Linked DNA regions of Homo sapiens: region 1 is linked to region 2. The links are contacts of gene promoters, found by promoter capture Hi-C in blood cells and fetal thymus (Javierre and others, 2016). All regions are on one chromosome and are shown on one strand. Each heading gives the region's core, a stretch centred on a gene start or on the middle of the fragment in contact. The rest is flanking DNA. Distances are from core to core; before and after follow the strand shown.

Region 1 (4,746 bases), core at 1,014-3,513, 120 kb before region 2:
TCTACACTGACTTGATTTGTTCTTGTGCCTCACTTCTTTGTATCTGTTTCAGTTATTTCCTCAAAGTCTCCTCAAATCTTTTTTGGACTAAGGTAGGATATAAACAGTAAGAATTTATTTTGGACTTAACAAGTTTTGCTCTTTACACCAATGTGATCATCTTTGAGACAGAAGCTTTCTGTCTAGGAGACAGTGGTTCCAAAATACACACATCAGAATCACCTTAGAGGCCAGGTACAGTGGCTAACACCTGTAACCCTAGAACTTTGGGAGGCCGAAGCAGGCAGATCACTTGAGGCCAGGAGTTTAAGACCAATCTGGTCAACATAGTAAAACCCTGTCTCTACTAAAAAATACAAAAAAAAAAAAAAAATTAGCCAGACATGGTGGCACACACTTGTAGTTCCAGCTACTCAGGAGGCTGAGGTATGAGGATCACCTGAACCCAGGAGGCAGAGGATGCAGTGAGCCAAGATTGCGCCACTGCACTCCAGCCTGGGTGACAGAGCGAGACTGTCTCAAAAATAAAAAATAAAATAAAATCACCTTAGAGATTTAAAAAAGGTTCTAATTCAGATCTGGGGTAGGCCCCAGGAATATGTAATTTTAAAAAGCTTCCCCACTGCTTCTGAAGCAGCCAGCCCAGCCCCTGGCCATGGAGCAGTGTTTGAGAATCTCTGGCCTAGAAACATAAAAAAAGGGGGCCATTAGTTATAAAAATGAATATCGAATTCTTTTACAAAATGTGATTTTCTAAATAAAATAAACCTCAACTTTATTCAGCTGATGTGCTTCCAAAACAATGGGTGTAAATCCAAATTTGCAAATCAAACCCATTCAAATTCATCAGGGCAAAGGGTGTACAGAACTCCGCAGTGAAGTCTAAAAAATCAAGACTCCTCTAACTTACTTGGTCTTGGAGTTTGGCTTTTCTTACAGTGGTCCCCCTGAAGTAAATGTCCATGTAATAAAGAGATCTCAAGTTCCTCTTGATAACCCACCTGTTTTAAATCACAATAGGCACACCAAACTCATGTACAAGGTCACAGAGGCTGGCTACCGGAGTTTCTTGCATCAGCTCGACCTAAGAATTCACCCCCGCCTCCACTAGAGGGTGCTCCTTCCCTGGCCTGGACCCTTCCCTACACTGAGGCGGTGGAGAGAGTCACACTGTTAGGCCAAGGTCTATTTTTCACCAGGCACTGAAAGCAGATGTGTGAAGAGAAGTGGTCATGTGACAACATGCAGTCTCAATGCCCCTGGGTGTCCAGACACACTGGCTGCTGTCCACCAGCCGCAGGTGGTAAAGACCCAAAAACCACCTCTGCAATTTTTATTCCAAACTAGAGGACTGGCTCTGAAGGTGCAGCATGAGGGTTCATCAAAGCCAACCACTGTCAAGTGTGGAAAGCACTGGTGCACACCACGAAAAGATGTCCTATCAGTCCACGCATGATGGGTGCGGGGACTTCTGCCTCCCAGAGTTCAAGAACAAATGGCTCAGCTGCTCCCTGCAGACCTTCCTCCAAAGTGTGCTGTCTGGCAGGATCCTTGGGTGCCTGGGGGACAGGACAGCCTTGCCGTCGCAGTCTCAGAATCCATTTTATGGATTACCAAAAGTCCTGCGCTAGGTCCCTGGCACCGCAGCAGTGCTGTGTGTAATGGAAATGTCAATGTGCCTCCCCAGAGTTAGACAGATCTAGGTCTAAAGATGCTGCAACCCCCCAGTCCACCCTCCAGTCACTGCTTTAACTCTGGCAGGGCCCCAACCCATTTTAGGAGTCACAGATTGCTCCTTCCTTGGAAACCTGGGGCCCATTTGGCCCGGAGGGGTAGGAACAATGGAGATCTCCTCCAACCGAAAGTGTGAAATTAGCATCCAGGAAACTCAGTTAATCTATGACAATTAAGAAAACTTACCAAAGGGGAGCTATGCCACAGAGGTGCCTGAAAGGACCAACATGACTACAGAGCAGCGGGGAGGGGAACAAGAGAGGTGAAGAGGAACACAGAAAGGAAGGGAAATAAGACAGAAGACAGTTCAAGCAACAAGAAACTAACAGAGCAGGTAGGGCAGGACAACCAAAGGTAGGGTTAATACTGAGCCGGTTTCCAGATCTGAAGGATTTTGAGTGTCATTTTATGTCTTGCCATGAAGCTGCTGTGCCCAGGGCTGGTAGGCCTGTGGTAAATGAGAACATACACTAACCAGGTCTTTCTGAGACTTTCAGTGATTCACCACATTAGATGGACTTCAGGACAGATTGGCCTTTATACTAAATTCCACAATATACCTGGTATTAGTACAGCCTGAATCCGGGGCTGGTCACAGAAGGAAAAAGGTTGTAGTCCCTGAAAACAGAGTGTTACAAGGACATACACACTACAGATGTCTCCACGGTGGGATCTGCCCACACTGGCTGGGCAAAATGAGGGCCTGGCTGGCAGGTGCTAATATATTTCAGGGAAGAGAAGGGAACCAAAGAATTAGAGATACTAAAACTAGAGCTGAGACTGTAATTGGAAAATCACAAATCTTTGCCTACAGCTACTTTCTAAGGGGCAAAGGCCCACAAAGCCTGGGCGCAGGTGCCAAGCCACAGTCTCTGAACCTTAAAAGCCAACCACTCTATTAACAACTAGAAAAAATCAGTGACTAGGGTCAAGACTGAACACTCCCGGGAAATAACACTGGCCTCACTTTAGAAAAGAGAAACACCCAGCTGTAGTGTGGAAAATCTTACTTGTTATCGGCAATAGCACTACATCTTGTTTCCCCTAGGTAGCTGCTTCCAGGGAATGGTGACAAGTATTGGCAGTCAGTCATCTACATGTCACTGAGGCACAGGGGAGGGTGGCCAGGAGCACGAGGATGTGAATCGACCTACTATTTAATATAATGGCTGTGAGAAAAGGCCTCTTTCCTTTCCTTTCCACTTTTGCTCCACCCTATCAGGAGCCAGAAAGGCCTGATGGTGACAAGGTGTGAACCGTGTGGACAGTCCTGCACACAGGGCTCACTGTGGACACCTTCCCAGGGCACGCATCAGCTATGTGAACAAAGCCACCAAAGCCATTCTTTCCCTCCCCCAGTGAGAGCGAGAGTGAGAGAGACAGACCCGGGACTTCTTTCATTTCCTAAGCACCGCGCATGGTGGTGGCACTAGCTCCCCCTCCAAGATGTCACAGAAAACAGAGCAGGTTGGAAATTAGACCACAATCACTCCCAAGTGTCTTCACAGTTCAGACAGGCAAACATTTCAAAAGGCGGCCTCTGGGCCCCCCTCTCTCTTTCACACACACACACACTTGCAGGCTGTGGGAATGCTGTTCAGCCACTGAGCGTGGCTGGCTCATGTCAGGTACTGCACCACGAGGAACATGACCACACAGGTCAGCAGCATCCCACCTATCATAAAGTACTTGTCCTGGAAAGCCCGCTTCTCGATGAGCCGCATCACTGTGTTGGACAAGCCCAGCATGTTGGCAATGTCAAGGATCTTCTTCTGAGTCCCCTGGGGCAGAAGAGAACAGAAAAAAAAACAAACATCAAGTCGCTTTACCAAGAGTGGGTGAATGGCATCAGGAGATGGAGCTTTGCCAACAGACATTCTCTTGGTCATGCCCAGAATACACAGAAAGCAATATCAGCCAGAAATAGAGCCACTCTCATGTCGTCGACTGATTTTTGATCAAGGTACCAGAGCAACGCTAAGTGGAAAGAAAAGTCTTTTCCACAAATGGTGCTGGAACGACTGACTATATAATATCACAGGTATGTATTTTATATATATGTATCTCTCTTACAGATATGTGTGTAAAAATTGAACCTCAATTCACATTATACATAAAAATTAATTTGAGATGGTTCATAGAATTAAACATAAAAGCTAAAGCCACAATTAAAGCTTCTAGAAAAAAACACAGGAGAATATCTAAAAACTGCAAACAGGCCAGGCGCAGGGACTCATCCCTGTAATCCCAGCACTCTGGGAGGGGTGGGTGGGAGGATTACTTGAGGCCAGGATTTCGAGATCAGCCTGGGCACGTAGTGAAGACCCCTTCTCTACAAAAAAAAATTAGCCAGGTGTGGTGGTGTGCACCTGTGGTTCTAGCTACTTGCGAGGCTAAGGTGACAGAACCACTTGAGCCCAGGAGTTCGAGGCTGCAGTAAGCCAAGATCACACCACTGCACTCCAGCCTGGGTGGCAGAAGGAGGCCCTGTCTCAAAAAATACATAAATAAATACATACTGAAAACAATGGTGTCACTAATCACAAGATGAATGAACAAACTATGGTAAACCTGTACCAATGGAATACTGCTTTGCAATAAAAAGTACCTGACTACCAACATGGAATTAAATAGGTAACAATATGAATGAACCTTGGAAACATACTGGGAGGAAGAAGCCACATAGAAAAGAGTAGCATGAATACCTTTATATGAAGTTCAATAACAAGAAAACCTCATCTATGGTGAAATAAATCACAACAGTGGCTGCCTGGGGCAGAGGGGTCAACTGACTGGGAAGGGGTACGAGGGATCTTTCAGAGGTGAAATGGTCCGGGCCTTGATGGGAGTGTGAGTTACAAAGGCTGATACAATTGCCCAAATTCACTGAATTGTAAAAATATGATCTGTATACCTTACTGTCTGTAAATTATATCTCAACAAAAATACTTAAAATTAGAATATTTTATACTATAAAAAGAAGGCAACATCAAAAAACTTGTCCTCGGCTCT
Region 2 (4,086 bases), core at 1,183-3,682:
TGGAGGAGGCATTCAGGTACACATGACCCCTCAGGGAATGATGTTCTTGCCCACAGCACCCAGGATGCTGGCTGGGCATATCTCAGCCAACACACACTCCCACCGACAGCCTCGGATCTTTTGCTCCCACCTCACAGGGTTGGCACCTGTGGAGTCTTGAGGCCCAGTAATGACCCCAAGAAGCCATCAAGTCCAGGCCCTGTCGCCCCACCATACTGCATCCACAGTGGTGTCTGAGTGGCCAGGGAAGGTAGCCCTCCCCAGCTCTCAGCACCACTGTCATGGGGCTCTGGAACTCCCGAGCCCTTGGGCAGGACTCCAGCAGGCAGCTCTGATCAGAAAGCCACCTGGGAGCCCTGTGGGTGGGACAGGACTCCAGGTAGGACCTAGCAGGCCTCCATCCAAGAGGGAGGTATGTGGAAAGCTCTCCACTGCCAGAGCCTTGGTCCTGAGGCTCTGCATTCATGGCAATGGTAACCCTCTTTCCAGGTGAATCAGAAACAGGGCACCCCAGAATCAGCCCAGCCATGAGGAGCATCTCTAGGGATCCCCATCTCTGCAGCCCCCACCAGGTTCACCACTCCTGGTCAGGTTCACGATTTTTCTTCGCCTTGCAGCTCCTTGGTGCTCTCCGCCTCCCCCCTGCCCCTTTCTTCCTCACACCGGTGGCTCAGCCTCCCCCCGACAGTTTTCTTGGTTTCTGTCTCAGCGTCTCTCTCATCTCTGAGCCCCTCTCTCTCTCTCCTCCTCTCGGATTCTCCTTTTCCTCCCCTTCCTTCCTCTCTTTCAACCTCCCCTCCCACCCCCTCCAGTCCAGCAATGGGCTGGGAACGCAGCAGGAGCCATGACAAGCCCAGGCGGCTCTCCCGACCCTTGGTGCCCCCGAGGCCATTTCCCCGCGCTCCCTGTGCCGGCAGCAGCCGCGTGCGGAGAGGGCTCGCCGACCAGAAGGGGCAGCAGGTTGGAGCTGTGGGTACGGGGGGCTCAGATCAAAGGCCAGGAATGTCTGGCCCCCTGGCGTAAGACTTCCTTCAGCCATGGCCCTCACCTCGTGGAACGCCCGCCGTTCCAGGCCTCTGTGGGACTCGGGTCGGCTCATTCTCTGCCCTTTCTGCCACAGTTCCCTACACAGCGGTCCCTGCTCCCCACCGGCAGTGCTTCCTTCACCCCAGACCGGGGCTGCGCAGAGTCCTGGTGCCTCAGGTGGCCTGGGAGGGGGCCTAGGGAAAGGCACCCAGGTGACCGGGCGTGAGTCCCCAAAACCTGACCATGATGTCAATACCACCCAGGGCTGAGACCTAATTCCTCGCTCTGGAGAGGGAGAGGAGAGGAAGCAAGCCCGAAGGGGGCCTGGAAGGACTCCTTTCCTGTGGGGAGGGGTGGGTAACTGGAGGCATTTGGTGTCCGCACAGGGCAAGGGCCTTTATCGCCAAACCCCAGGCTGGAGCTCCCTATCAGTAGAACCGGGGCCTCAGGCGGGACGGTCGGGCAGTGAGGGGCGCTCCGGAGGGCAGCAAGGTCTTCCAAGGACCTGGGCCGCCCTCGGCCAGAGCTGCGCGTTTCACCGGTCCCTGATGGTCCAACCGAGAATCCCACTGAGGCTGTGGGTCACGCCTCCGACCCGGGCCAGAGGTCGGGCCTGAACCCCTCAAGGAGGAGAAAGTGACCCGACTCCGAGAGCAGGAAATGCGACTGGCCGCTGGTGTCAGTTGCAGGAAATGCAAAGGCAGCAGGAGGTCCCGATACCGATCTGATCCCTGACAAAAGACTCAAATGACACTCGGCTCCGTCCCCCGGCGCCGCCCGCAGCCAGACCTTCGAGCCTCCGCGGACTTTTCCGCACGTTCCTCGGACACCCGGGAAGTGACCTCCCGCGGCCAGGACGAGAGGCCAGAGAGCGGGCGGACTCGGGAGGCTGGAAGCTGGGAGGGGGTGCGTTCCCCCACCCTCTGATCCTGACCTGCCCGAGCGGGGCTTCTGGAAACATCCCTGTGCTTTCTACCCTCGATTCCTCGCGGGCCCACGTCCCAACGGGTCACGGTCCCCGCCAGCAAAGGAGCCACCCGTTCATGCCCACGCCAAGCCCTCGCCATGTGAACGCCCGGGTCAAAGCCCCCGCGCCCTAACCCTGGCCAGCGGGGGACCGCGGCGGTAGCAGAGGGTCCGGCCCACCGCGTCCCCCCGAAGCCCCGCGGCGTCCGGGGCGCGGGCTTTGCCCAAGTTTGCTGGGCGATGCCCTTCCCGGAGCCCGAGTTGTGGGCCGGGCGGGAGGGGCGCGTGATTGACAGGCTGAACTACAGACTCATCTCTTACCTTAGGCCGCGGGCGCTGATTGGCTGCTCGCTGACATCCTCAAACCCGGCTGCTCCGCGCTGGGCTCGGGAGGGGGGCGGCTGCGGGTGGAGGTGCGCTTCTGACAAGCCCGAAAGTCATTTCCAATCTCAAGTGGACTTTGTTCCAACTATTGGGGGCGTCGCTCCCCCTCTTCATGGTCGCGGGCAAACTTCCTCCTCGGCGCCTCTTCTAATGGAGCCCCACCTGCTCGGGCTGCTCCTCGGCCTCCTGCTCGGTGGCACCAGGGTCCTCGCTGGCTACCCAATTTGGTGGTAAGACTCGCCTCTTGTCTGCCCGCGGCCCGGTTTCTCCGCCGCGTCCGGGGAAGGTGGGGGCGCCGGCTGGGGGTGGGCCGCTGCAGGGCTGGGGCTCCTCTCCTCGCCTCCCTCCAGCCCCCCACCCGCCCACCCCTCCTGGATTTTCTGCTGGTGTCGCCTTCAGAATCCAACTCCTGGCTCCTCTGATAATCACCATTTTCCCTGCTCCCCGCTGCAGGGGCTGGAGGACTTTTCCCATCTCAGAAGGTTTCTTATTCTTAGATCCTAACCCTCTGCCCGTCCCAATCTAGAGGCCCCCGAAGACCCCCCATTTGCTTGCAGTTGGGTTTCTGGAAATCCAGCACTGTCCCTGGGGCCCAGCCACTCCTCTTCTCCATTTTGGGGTCTTCATGGGCAAAACCATCCTGTTCCTTCACTGCCACCCCACCTCTGCCGGCGCCTCCATCAAGAGATTCCCCATAATAACCCCCCTTTGCCTTCCTATTTCAGACCCCAAAGGCTTCAGGGCTCCTCCCGGGGCAGGGGAGTGGGTGGGGGGATTTCATCAGATTCTCCCCACCGCTCTAGATTCATCTTGAGCCTCTGAAGTGAATATGGTATTTGCTGATCCGGGATGCCATTGAATTCGGATTTTATTCATTTCTTGCTTGTCCACCCTGGCAAAAGGGGGGTTCCTTGAAAATGTGTTGTCTGGGAGGGGTAGGCTTGTTGTTCTTTGACCAAAAATCCAATTCTCCATGTCACATTTCTTCCTTTTGGAAAACCGAGGACCGAGGAGAAAGGGAGAGGGAAGGGAGAATTCCGTCCCTGAGAAATGTGGATACAAAAGACATTTTAGTAAATAAGACTGGGAAGCCGGGAGCAGTGCTTGGGGGGGGCTGTGCGTGTCTGGGGGGCCTGGGTGAGGAATAAACATCGCTTTGGGAGCCCCAGCTCCAGGAGTCCCCTTGTTTTCCGAGCGGCCCCATCGCCGCTCTCCCACCCTCCGCAGGTCCCAGGGGCCAGAGGGGAAGACACTGAAACCAGTTCTCTAAATTACACTCCGCCTCTCCCCAGTCTCCAGCCCCCTACATTCCGGAAAACTTTAATTAAAGAATCTTCCCCTCCTGGACATAGGAGAGCCTTGGCCTGGGCGGGGGGAGGTGAGGAGGAAGAATTTGGGATCTGTGAGTGAGAAGTGGGCTGTGGCCCCCGGGGTGAAAGTCAGAAAGAAGTGCCACCACGGTGCGGTACCGCCTGCAGGTCCCCAGACTCCCTGCCTTTCGCCAACCCAGAGTCCAGGGTAGGAGGAGCAGAGACAGCGAGACTTGGGGGCCACACCCCGAGTCTTCCAGTTGTTTGGGGATGGCAGCATTTGTGTCTGGGTGTTTGGGGCTCCTGGGAGAGAGGGTGGGGACATGGCCAAGGGTCTCTGTTTAGAGGGTGCTAGGAGTTGCTCCCAGGACAGCCAGCCAAGGGGAAGTCTTTCTTCTGC

The links. The method cuts DNA at HindIII sites, captures the fragments that hold promoters and counts their contacts. A CHiCAGO score of 5 or more calls a contact.
Region 1: a fragment that was not itself captured here is called in contact with the fragment with the promoter of WNT3 in region 2 in 3 of 17 cell types (M0 macrophages, megakaryocytes and erythroblasts); the score reaches 6.5 in M0 macrophages.

Annotation. Positions count from the first base shown.
Region 1 is chr17:46,937,368-46,942,113 of GRCh38, reverse strand. It overlaps GOSR2 (golgi SNAP receptor complex member 2), which reads right to left. Exons shown (of 6, transcript NM_004287.5): 6 at 94-3,515. The coding sequence ends at 3,354. It also overlaps a transcript of LRRC37A2 not described here. Among named protein-coding and RNA genes, the nearest start is that of GOSR2, 17 kb to the right of the region's middle. The HindIII fragment of the contact is 3,294 bases long and covers 617-3,910 here.
Region 2 is chr17:46,817,038-46,821,123 of GRCh38, reverse strand. WNT3 (Wnt family member 3) reads left to right here and starts at 2,432. Exons shown (of 5, transcript NM_030753.5): 1 at 2,432-2,606. The coding sequence starts at 2,527. It also overlaps a transcript of LRRC37A2 not described here. RefSeq lists an enhancer at 790-1,377. The HindIII fragment of the contact is 21,295 bases long and covers 1-4,086 here.